Regions from separate parts of the Homo sapiens genome. Here regions 2 and 3 are each linked to region 1. Evidence: promoter capture Hi-C in human tissues and cell types (Jung and others, 2019). All regions are on one chromosome and are shown on one strand. The core of a region is centred on a gene start or on the middle of the fragment in contact, and the rest is flanking DNA. Distances in the headings are between cores, read along the strand shown. Region 1 holds the start of MTO1 (mitochondrial tRNA translation optimization 1). Region 2 overlaps SLC17A5 (solute carrier family 17 member 5). Region 3 has its middle 6.5 kb from the start of C6orf147.

Region 1 (3,208 bases), core at 285-2,784:
GAAAGAGCCCCATTGCATTGTGGGCTGCTGGCCAGATCCTGCAATACCACACTTGTTTTATTCTCCAGTCAAACGTTGCCTTTCTGAGAAAGGCTGTGAATTGAGAAAGGCTGTGAATTCCAAAAGGCTGGACATTTAACCTCCAACCAACCGATTCTTCTAATTAACCAATTAGCCATCATGAATCTCTCTCTCTCTTTTTTTTTTTTTTGAGACAGAGTCTCACTCTTGTCGCCAGGCTGGAGTGCAGTGGCACGATCTCGGCTCACTGCAACCTCTGCCTACGGGTTCAAGCAATTCTCCTGCCTCAGCCGCCCAAGTAGCTGGGACTACAGGTGCATGCCACCACACCTGGCTAATTTTTTTTTTTGTATTTTAGTACAGACGGGGTTTCACCATGTTGCCCAGATTGGTCTCGAACTCCTGAGCTCAGGCAATCTGCCCCCTTCGGCCTTCCAAAGTGCTAGGATTACAGGCGTGATCCACCATGCCCAGGCACCATCATGAATCTTTCAGTCCACAAATATATTTGAACTCCTTTCGAATCTATTCTTTTTCTTTTCTTTTTCTTTTTTTTTTTTTGAGACGGAGTCTTGCTCTGTCGCCCAGGCTGGAGTGCAGTGGCACAATCTTGGTTCACTGCAACCTCGGCCTCCCAGGTTCAAGCGATTCTCCTGCCTCAGTCTCCTGAGTAGCTGGGATTACAGGTGCATGCCACCACTCCCGGCTAATTTTTTTTTTTTTTTTTTTTTTTTTTTTTTTTAGTAGCGATGGGGTTTCACCATGTTGACCAGGATGGTCTCCATCTCCTGACCTTGTGATCCACCTGCTTCGGCCTCCCAGAGTGCTGGGAATACAGGCGTGAGCCACCGCGCCCGGCCCGAATCTATTCTTATTTTCAGCCCTTAGTTTTTATAGACAAACAGAAGGTGACGGTGTATCAGATTGTCAGATCACAAAGATCTGATAAGGCAAAGTGATCAAATTCATTGATCGTAGGTGGCCACCTGGCGATAAGGACTGCAGGGCCTAAGAAAGTACAAAAGATGACCTTTAGTAGGAGCTCCCAACCCAGAACCACAGGAAATCAAAAAAAGCCCGCACGGGCGGATCACGAGGTCAGGAAATCGAGAACATCCTGGCTAATACGGTGAAACCCAGTCTCTACTAAAAATACAAAAAATTAGCCGGGCGTAGTGGCGGGCGCCTGTAGCCCCAGCTACTCGGAGGCTAAGGCAGGAGAATGGCGCGAACCCGGGAGGGGGAGCTTGCAGTGAGCCGAAATCGCGCCACTGCATTCCAGCCTGGGCAACAGAGCGAGACTCTGTCTCAAAATAAATAAATAAATAAATAAATAAATAAATAAATAAATAAATAAATAAATAAATAAATAAAAATAAAAAATAATAATAATAAAAAAAGCCCGCACGAACTAGGAAAGAAAATACACAACCGGCCCTCCGTGCGATCACCCATCTCCCTCACCAGGAAAGTAGCTCCAAACCGCCAATCAGCGGCGACGCTGGACGTAGACGTCCTACCCCGTGATATTAAAGCAAGATGGCCGCGCCCTGCAGATTGTCTCTTGTTGCGTAAGTTTTTTTGACCGTCACTCGTGTCAGCTTCAAAGTCAGATAGATTTTTCTCCCAGCATGTTCTACTTCCGAGGCTGTGGCCGTTGGGTCGCGGTTTCCTTCACCAAGCAGCAATTTCCGTTGGCACGGTTGAGCAGTGACAGCGCGGCGCCCCGGACTCCGCACTTCGACGTGATAGTCATTGGTGGAGGACATGCCGGGACTGAGGCAGCCACCGCCGCCGCTCGGTGCGGCTCTCGGACTCTGCTCCTCACTCACCGCGTGGACACGATCGGTGAGGAGCGCGGGTGCTGTGGAACTTGGCGTAGGACGCAGGCTGCTTCCTTCCCGCCTCCCCCGGTCTGAAGCGGGGGACCTCTTCCTTTCCTCAAAGCTAGTGAGAATCCTACCTTCTGTGGTTTTAGCCTCGATCAGTGTCTCGCAAGGATCAGGCGGGCCAGGCCAGAACTCTATATTAGTCTATTCTGCGAACCATAGATTATGCTGCTGCTGACAGTCGTCCGTTGTAGGAGGTTGGGGTTCGGGGTCAGTGCCTTGGGAAAGGGAGCTACCAACTACTCGCTGGTAGCTTCTTAGTTCATTGCTGCGTTTACCTTCTACTATGTTACTCCAGATAAAGGGTGAATTAACATTATTAACAATGGTTTATGGCCAGGTGCAGTGGCTCACTTCTTTAATCCCAGCACTTTGGGATGCCAAGGCAGGTGGATCACCTGAGGTCAGGAGTTTGAGACCAGCTTGGCCAACACGGCGAAACCCCGTCTCTACTAAAAATACAAAAATTAGCCGGGCATGGTGGCGGGCGCCTATAATCCCAGCTACTCGGGAGTCTGAGGCAGGAGAATCGCTTGAACCCGGGGGCAGAGGTTGCAGTGAGCCGAGATTGCGCCACTTCACTCCAGCCTGGGCAAAAGAGCAAAACTCCGTCTCAAAATAATGATAATATTAATAAAATAAAAAAATCCTTTATTAAACGGTTCTTGTGTTTTTATTTAAAAACATTTTTTTAGAGACAGGGTCTCGCCATGTTGCCCAGGCTGGAGTGCAGTGACTACTCATAGGCACGATCGTTGCACATTACAGGCTCCGCTTTCTGGACTCAAGAACTTTTCCTGCCTCTGCCTAACCAGTAGCTGGGATTGCAGGTGCTCAGTACTCTGCCCAGCCTGATCTTTGTGTTTCTGTCAAGATTTTGTGATGCCTTTTGGAAGAACCATGCTACCTTTTTTTTTTTTTTTTCTTTTGAGACAGAGTCTTGCACTGTCACACAGGCTCAAGTGCAGTGGCGCCATCTCGGCTCACTGCAAGCTCCGCCTTCCGGGTTAATGCCATTCTCCTGCCTCAGCCTCCCGAGTAGCTGGGATTACAGGCACCCACCACCACGCCCGGCTAATTTTTTTTTTCTTTGTATTTTTAGTAGAGTCGGGGTTTCACCATGTTAGCCAGGATGGTCTCGATCTCCTGACCTTGTGATCCGCCCGCCTCGGCCTCCCAAAATGCTGGGATTACAGGCATGAGCCACCGTGCCCAGCGCCATGCTACCTTTTGCATCCTATATTCCTTCTGGGTTGTCGTCCCTGGATTTTGTGTTTAGTACTGGACAGTACTTTTTT
Region 2 (3,208 bases), core at 531-3,030, 170 kb after region 1:
CTTTCAAAGTAACTTAACTTATTTATTTGAGACATGGTCTTGCTCTGTTGCCCAGGTTGGAGTGCAATGGCTGATCATAGTTCACTGCAACCTTGACCTGCTGGACTTAAGCAGTCCCCTTGCCTCAGCCTCCTGAGGAGCTGGAACTGCACTTGTGTGCCACCATACCCAGCTAAAACTTTCTTTTTTACTTGTATTAATTTTTTTTTTTTTTTTTTTTGCTGGGAAGACTCAGACCCAAGTAACCTTGGATATGAGCTCTCCACCTGGTTAAAACTTTATTACAGTGCTGATTTCTTCTGTTTCTAAGTTTTTGCCAATCTTTGGCAAAGATCAAGACAGGTCATAATTCTTAAAGTTCAGCTGCTTGTAGAGACATTTATAGCAAAATAAAAAACTTAAAAAGAAATGTTAAAGAGTACATTTTTCCTTCTTTTTAGAGATGGGGTCTCGCTATGTTGTCCAGGCTGGTCTTGAACTCCAGGGCTCAAGAAAACTGCCTGCCTTAGCCTCCCAAAGTGCTGGGATTACAGGCGTAAATCACCATGCCCAGCCAAGACTAAGTTTTTAATTTTACTGCCTGGTTATATTGTATATAAATATTTAAAATATCAATCTTGGGCTAGGCACAGTGGTTCATGCCTGTAATCCCAGCACTTTGGGAGGCCAAGGTGGGAGGATCGCTTGAGGCCAGGAGTTCGAGACCAGCCTGGCCAATAAGGTGAAATCCCGTCTCTACTAAAAATACAAAAAATTAGCTGGGAGTGGTGGCATGCACCTGTAATCCCAGCAACTCAGGAGGCTGAGGCAGGAGAATTGCTTGAACCAGGGAGATAGAGGTTGCAGTGAGCTGAGATTGTGCCACTACACTCCAGCCTGGGTGAGAGAGCGAAACTCCGTCTAAAAAAAAAAATAAATAAAATAAAATAAAATATCAATCATGACAATTTAATAGGAAAAGTCTTAAATATTTTATGTTCTTAAACTAATAAAGTGACTTTGAAGCCAACAAGAATGCTGAAAACAAACTGTGTATATTTTAATCTTTCCTAATGTTTTTATGTTCTTCTTTTATTCTACTCAAAAGGCAAACATTTTGTTTCCATGGTTTGAGAATTTAGTATATTGAATTATTATAGATTTTTATTTGTGATTTGCCTTTGTGCTCGATTAAGTGATTGAAATCTGGTTTTAATAAGATATAAACTTTTTTCTAAAGACCTACTCTAGAAGAGCAAACAGATGTATATCATATTATAATATTATATCATAATAAATGTGCTGTTCTCTTTCTTTAATGACACTCATTTAAAATATAGATACAGGTCCAATATCCCTTGTCTGAAATGCTTGGAACCAGAAGTGTTTTGGATTCTGGATTTTAGAATATTTGTATCACGTACCTTCCCAATTAAGCATCCTAAATCTTGTTTTTCTTTTCGAGATGGAGTCTTGCTCTGTCACCCAGGCTGGAGTGCAGTGGCACGATCTCAGCTCACTGCAACCTCTGCCTCCTGGGTTCAAGGAATTCTCCTGTCTCAGCCTCCCGAGTAGCTGGGACTACAGGTGTGTGCCACCATGCCCAGCTAATTTTTGTATTTTTAGCAGAGATGGGGTTTTGTCATGTTGGCCGGGCTGATCTCGAACTCCTGACCTCAGGCGATCCGCCTGCCTCAGCCTCCCAAAGTGCTGGGATTACAGGAGTGAGCCATCAGGCTGGCCAAGCATCCTAAATCTTAAAATCCAAAAATCTGAACTCTGAAATGCTCCAATGAGCATTTCCTTTGAGCATCATGTGGGTTCTCAAAAACTTTTGGATTTCAGAGTATTTTGGATTTAGAATTTTCAGATTTGGGATGTACAACTGTATAAACACACTAGTTGGTTTTCTAACAACTAATGGTCAGAATGAGAATCCTTTCATGAATAACACATTTTATTTTCTACTAATCAAGTGGAAAAAACAAACTTAAGACTCATTTGATAATCACTACACTAAAAGGTTTTAAAATGACTTAAAAATATTTTTTATAGTTTATAAAACTATACTTTCTATAAAAAATGAAAGAACTGAAATTCTTCAGACAATACTTTGTTCATATTTATGTATTTAAAATTTTTTTTTAAATATTTTAAATGTTTTGTAGAGAAAGGGTCTCACTATGTTGACTAGGCTAGTCTCCTGACCTCAAATGATCCTCCCACCTAGACCTCCCCAAAGGACTGGGATTACAAGTGTGAGCCACTGCACCCAGCCAGACAATACTTTGGATGTTCATTTCATTTGCCTATTCTACTTTGTCTAGAGCATGCACAATAGGAATATATATTTTTAAAAACTGATATCTTAATTCTGAAGAAAAAAAGTTTCTGACATTATTTTTAAAATGTGTCAAAGTCCATACCTGATTTCTTAATGATGAAAGAATGTATTCCTTTTCATAATGGGAAATTCTCTTGTGTTTTTGTGGTGTGTCACTAACTAACCAGATCCACAAAAGAAACCAAAATATTCCAATAGTACCTTAAAATAGAAAAATAATAGTTAGATAAAATTAGAATGTACCAAATAACAAACAAAACAAAACAAAAACACAAAATTAGAAAGCACCAACAACAATTTTTACATGTCTTGAAAAAATTATGTAACTATAAATTCAATGTAAAACTGACTTCAGTTTGGATTCAATTTCAAGTTTCTCTCAATTCTTTAATGGGATAATTGCTATAACTGTATTATTGCTTATACATTTTGAAGAAAACAACTTTTTTTTTTTTTTTTGAGATAGAGTCTTGCTCTGTCTCACAGGCTGGAGTGCAGTGACGTGATCTCGGCTCACTGCAACCTCCGCCTGCTGGGTTCAAGCAACTCTACTGTCTCAGCCTCCTGAGTAGCTGGGACTACAGGCACGTGCCACCACGCCTGGCTAATTTTTGTATTTTGAGTAGAGATGGGGTTCCACCATGTTGGCCAGGCTGGTCTTGAACTCCTGACCTCGTGATCCACCCGCCTCGGCCTCCCAAAGTGCTGGGATTACAGGTGTGAGCCACTGCACCCAGCCAGAAGAAAACAACTTTTAACCACATGACTTTGCCTATCAGGGTCTACCAGACAAATCTTTTTGAAGATACATTTCCACAATCTACATATTTCCAAAGGTGTCTGTTTTTGTTAGTTGAGTTTTAAATTTTGATTGCAGATATATTT
Region 3 (3,208 bases), core at 252-2,751, 140 kb before region 1:
CGAGCCCCAATCCCTGTGGCTTTAAAACTCCCCGGCGCTTAGGTTATTCGATGCCCACCAGCCTTACCGATTTAGGTAAAGGAGTAAATAAATTGGCACCTGTAAGACAAGAGTCTCAACTACAGATAGTGGCAGGACACTGCAGCTCCTGACTTACAGCCCTGAATTTGGATGGCTCCTTCACAATTCGCCAGAGCTGCTAGGAGGAGCGGGGACGTGGGAACAGATAGGGAGGTAGTATGTGGAAGAGTAAGTGCCAGGAGGACCTTGGTTAGAGCCCTGACTTGGCCATTTACAAGTTGTGTGATCTTGGACAATTTACTTTTGTGAGCCTGGGTGTTCCAACTTGAAAAGGAATATAATTATTTTTTCCTTGCAACAATGGAGGTGGGGAGGTAGTATTTGAGTGTACTAGGCATAAACTAGTATGGGCATTTTGCATGTTAGGGTTTCACTGGAAATGCCTCCTTTCTGACTGCCCCCTATACACGCACACACACACAATCTATTCTGTTCCCTCAATGGTGAGTAAGGAAGGATAGAGGAAGCCTCTTTCCTCTTAGTGTACCTTCCTTGTCACCTTGCATTTACAATAGCTACTTCTAGGCACTGAACCATATTTTTAAAGACTCTTCTCCTCTCACTGTTGCTTGATGTTACATGGATTAATAGGTATAGGATCCAAGGTTCAGGGCAGTCAGAGAGTTTTATAGACATATTTTTTTTCAGTTATTTCAAGGTCAGACACTAACCCTAAGGCAACATAAGGCATACTAATTAGAGCAAGGAATTTACCCCGAGATCCATGCTAGCTTCATGAACTCTATGCTTGTTCGTTAAATATGCATATATAGCTTTCAGCATACTATCTAAGGCAGTGCTGTTCAATAGACGTTCCTGCAGTGATGGAGATATATATAAAATTGTGTTGTTCAATATGGTAGCCACTAGCCACATGTGGCTGTTGAGCTCCTGAAATGTGGCTGGTGCTATGAGAAATTGAATTTTTAATTTTATTTAATTTTAAGTAAGTTAAATTTAAATTGCCAAATATGACTAGTAACTAATGTATTGGACAGTGTAACTCCAAAGAATTCATTACCTTCCTTATCTCCCCAAAAATAGTAAGCACAGATTTAAAACTTAGCAAATTTTGTCATAAACCTTGAATAGACAACCAAAAGCCAAATAAAATATTAAATTGAAACTGGAATCCTTTCAATATTACTCCCTACTGAATGAATTGTGGACCCAGCTTTGCAAAAGAATAACAAGAAGAAAAGCTAAGATGAGGGGAGATGGTGTTCGAAATGATGATTGGGTCTGGGCACAGTGGCTCACACCTGTAATCCCAGCACTTTGGGAAGCAAAGGTGGAGGCGGGCAGATGGTTTGAGCCCAGGAGTTCGAGACCAACCTGGGCAACATGACGAAACCCCGTCTCTACAAAAAAAATTTAAAATTTTTTTTAAAAATTAGTTGAGCATGGTGGCATATGATTTTGGTCCCAACTATGAGGGAGGCTGAGACAGGAGGATCGCTTGAGCCAGGGAGCTCAAGGCTTCAGTGAGCTGAGATCATGCCACTGAACTCCAGCCTGGGTGACAGAGTGAGGCCCTATCCCCCCCAAAAAAAAAAAAAAAAAAAAAATGAGGACTGGGGAGGTACTTGCTAGCTTTTTCTTTTGTTATGCATGTTACAAAGGTCCACAAAATGGCTTACAATTACAAAGGTCTCTTTTTCTTTTATATTACTCATCTGTAAGCTGTCTTTACTCTTGTACCCAGTGAATGTAGCAGCCCCATCTAGGACATGCCAGTCTTATGGCAGAGGAGAAGACATACACTTCTGTGATATGAAGCTTGGTTATGTAACAAATGGAGAGAGAAGTATATATACTTCTTCCTCAAAGAGGGGGAACGAAAGAAGAATTAAAGAAAACAGCCTGCATGTCCATCATAGAAAATGAGTTAAATAGAGCCATACAATATACTAGAGAGCAACTAAAAAATGAACTAAAACTGTGATACATCCATATGATATAATATTACTCAGCAATGAAAAGAATTAAGCTATCAAGCCAAAGAAAGGCATGGAGGAACCTATATTGCTAAGTGGAAAAAGCCAGTCTGTAAAGGTAACATACTGTATGATTCCAACAATATAACATTCTGGAAAAGGCAAAAATATTAGGTTGATGCAAAAGTACTTTATACAACCTAATATAAGTGATAGTAAAAACATCAGTGGTTGCTAGTGGCTTGGGGAAAAGGGGAAGGATGAATAGGTGAAGTGCAAGATTTTTTAGGGCAGTGAAATTATTCTGTATCATATTATTAATGGTGGCTACATGACATTATGCATTTATCAAACTATAGAACTTTATAACACAAAAAGTGGACCTCAATGTATGCAAATTAAAAAGAAATCATTTAGGAGGTTGGGAGAACCCAGACAAGAATTCAGACTCTGGCCAGGCACAGTGGCTCACGCCTGTAATCCCAGCACTTTGGGAGGCTAAGGCAGGCAGATCCTGAGGTCAGGAAATCGAGACCATCCTGGCTAACACAGCGAAACCCTGTCTCTACTAAAAATCCAAAAAATTATCTGGGCATGGTAGCAGTCGCCTGTATTCCCAGCTACTCAGGAGGCTGAAGCAGGAGAATTGCTTGAACCCGGGAGGCAGAGGTTGCAGTGAGCCGAGATCGCATCACTGCACTCCAGCCTTAGTGACAGAGCAAGACTCTGTCTCAAAAAAAAAAAAAGAGAATTCAGACTCTGACAGGGTACTCTATATTATAGTTACGTTAAACAACACCCTTAAAGGGGCAGGGTGAAAGTGCTGACATAAGTAACTTTGGAAGTGAATGGAGTTGGTAAGACTATAAGCAAAAAAAAAAAAAAAAAAAAAAAAAAAAAAAAAAAAAAAAACCTGCACGTAAGAACTGTACTCTAGTTGATAAAGTTAAATCCTGATATAGTAGTCCCTCATCATCTGCAGTTTCTCTTTCACAGTTTCAGTTACTGACAGTCAACAAGAAGATAGGTATGTACAATACAATAAGATATTTTGAGTGAGAGAGACCATATTCATGTAACTTTTATTATAGTATATGTATTAGTCCATTTTCATGCTGCAGATAAAGACATACCTGAGACTGGGAAGAAAAAAGTTTAATGGACTTACAGTTCCACATGGCTGAGGACAC

The links. Contacts are between HindIII fragments. The study calls those that stand out against the background at their distance.
Region 2: a contact is called between a fragment that was not itself captured here and the fragment with the promoter of MTO1 in region 1, in 4 of the 25 tissues and cell types used here (aorta, bladder, liver and 1 more).
Region 3: a fragment that was not itself captured here is called in contact with the fragment with the promoter of MTO1 in region 1 in 1 of the 25 tissues and cell types used here (pancreas).

What each region holds. Positions count from the first base shown.
Region 1 is chr6:73,460,203-73,463,410 of GRCh38, forward strand. MTO1 (mitochondrial tRNA translation optimization 1) reads left to right here and starts at 1,535. Exons shown (of 12, transcript NM_012123.4): 1 at 1,535-1,869. The coding sequence starts at 1,653. RefSeq lists a silencer at 1,036-1,095 and enhancers at 1,528-2,373, 1,546-1,875, 1,946-2,005, 2,026-2,075. The HindIII fragment of the contact is 26,494 bases long and covers 1-3,208 here.
Region 2 is chr6:73,632,977-73,636,184 of GRCh38, forward strand. It overlaps SLC17A5 (solute carrier family 17 member 5), which reads right to left. Exons shown (of 11, transcript NM_012434.5): 6 at 2,406-2,524. Among named protein-coding and RNA genes, the nearest start is that of SLC17A5, 19 kb to the right of the region's middle. The HindIII fragment of the contact is 5,424 bases long and covers 1-3,208 here.
Region 3 is chr6:73,315,248-73,318,455 of GRCh38, forward strand. No RefSeq gene overlaps it. Among named protein-coding and RNA genes, the nearest start is that of C6orf147, 6.5 kb to the left of the region's middle. The HindIII fragment of the contact is 5,323 bases long and covers 1-3,208 here.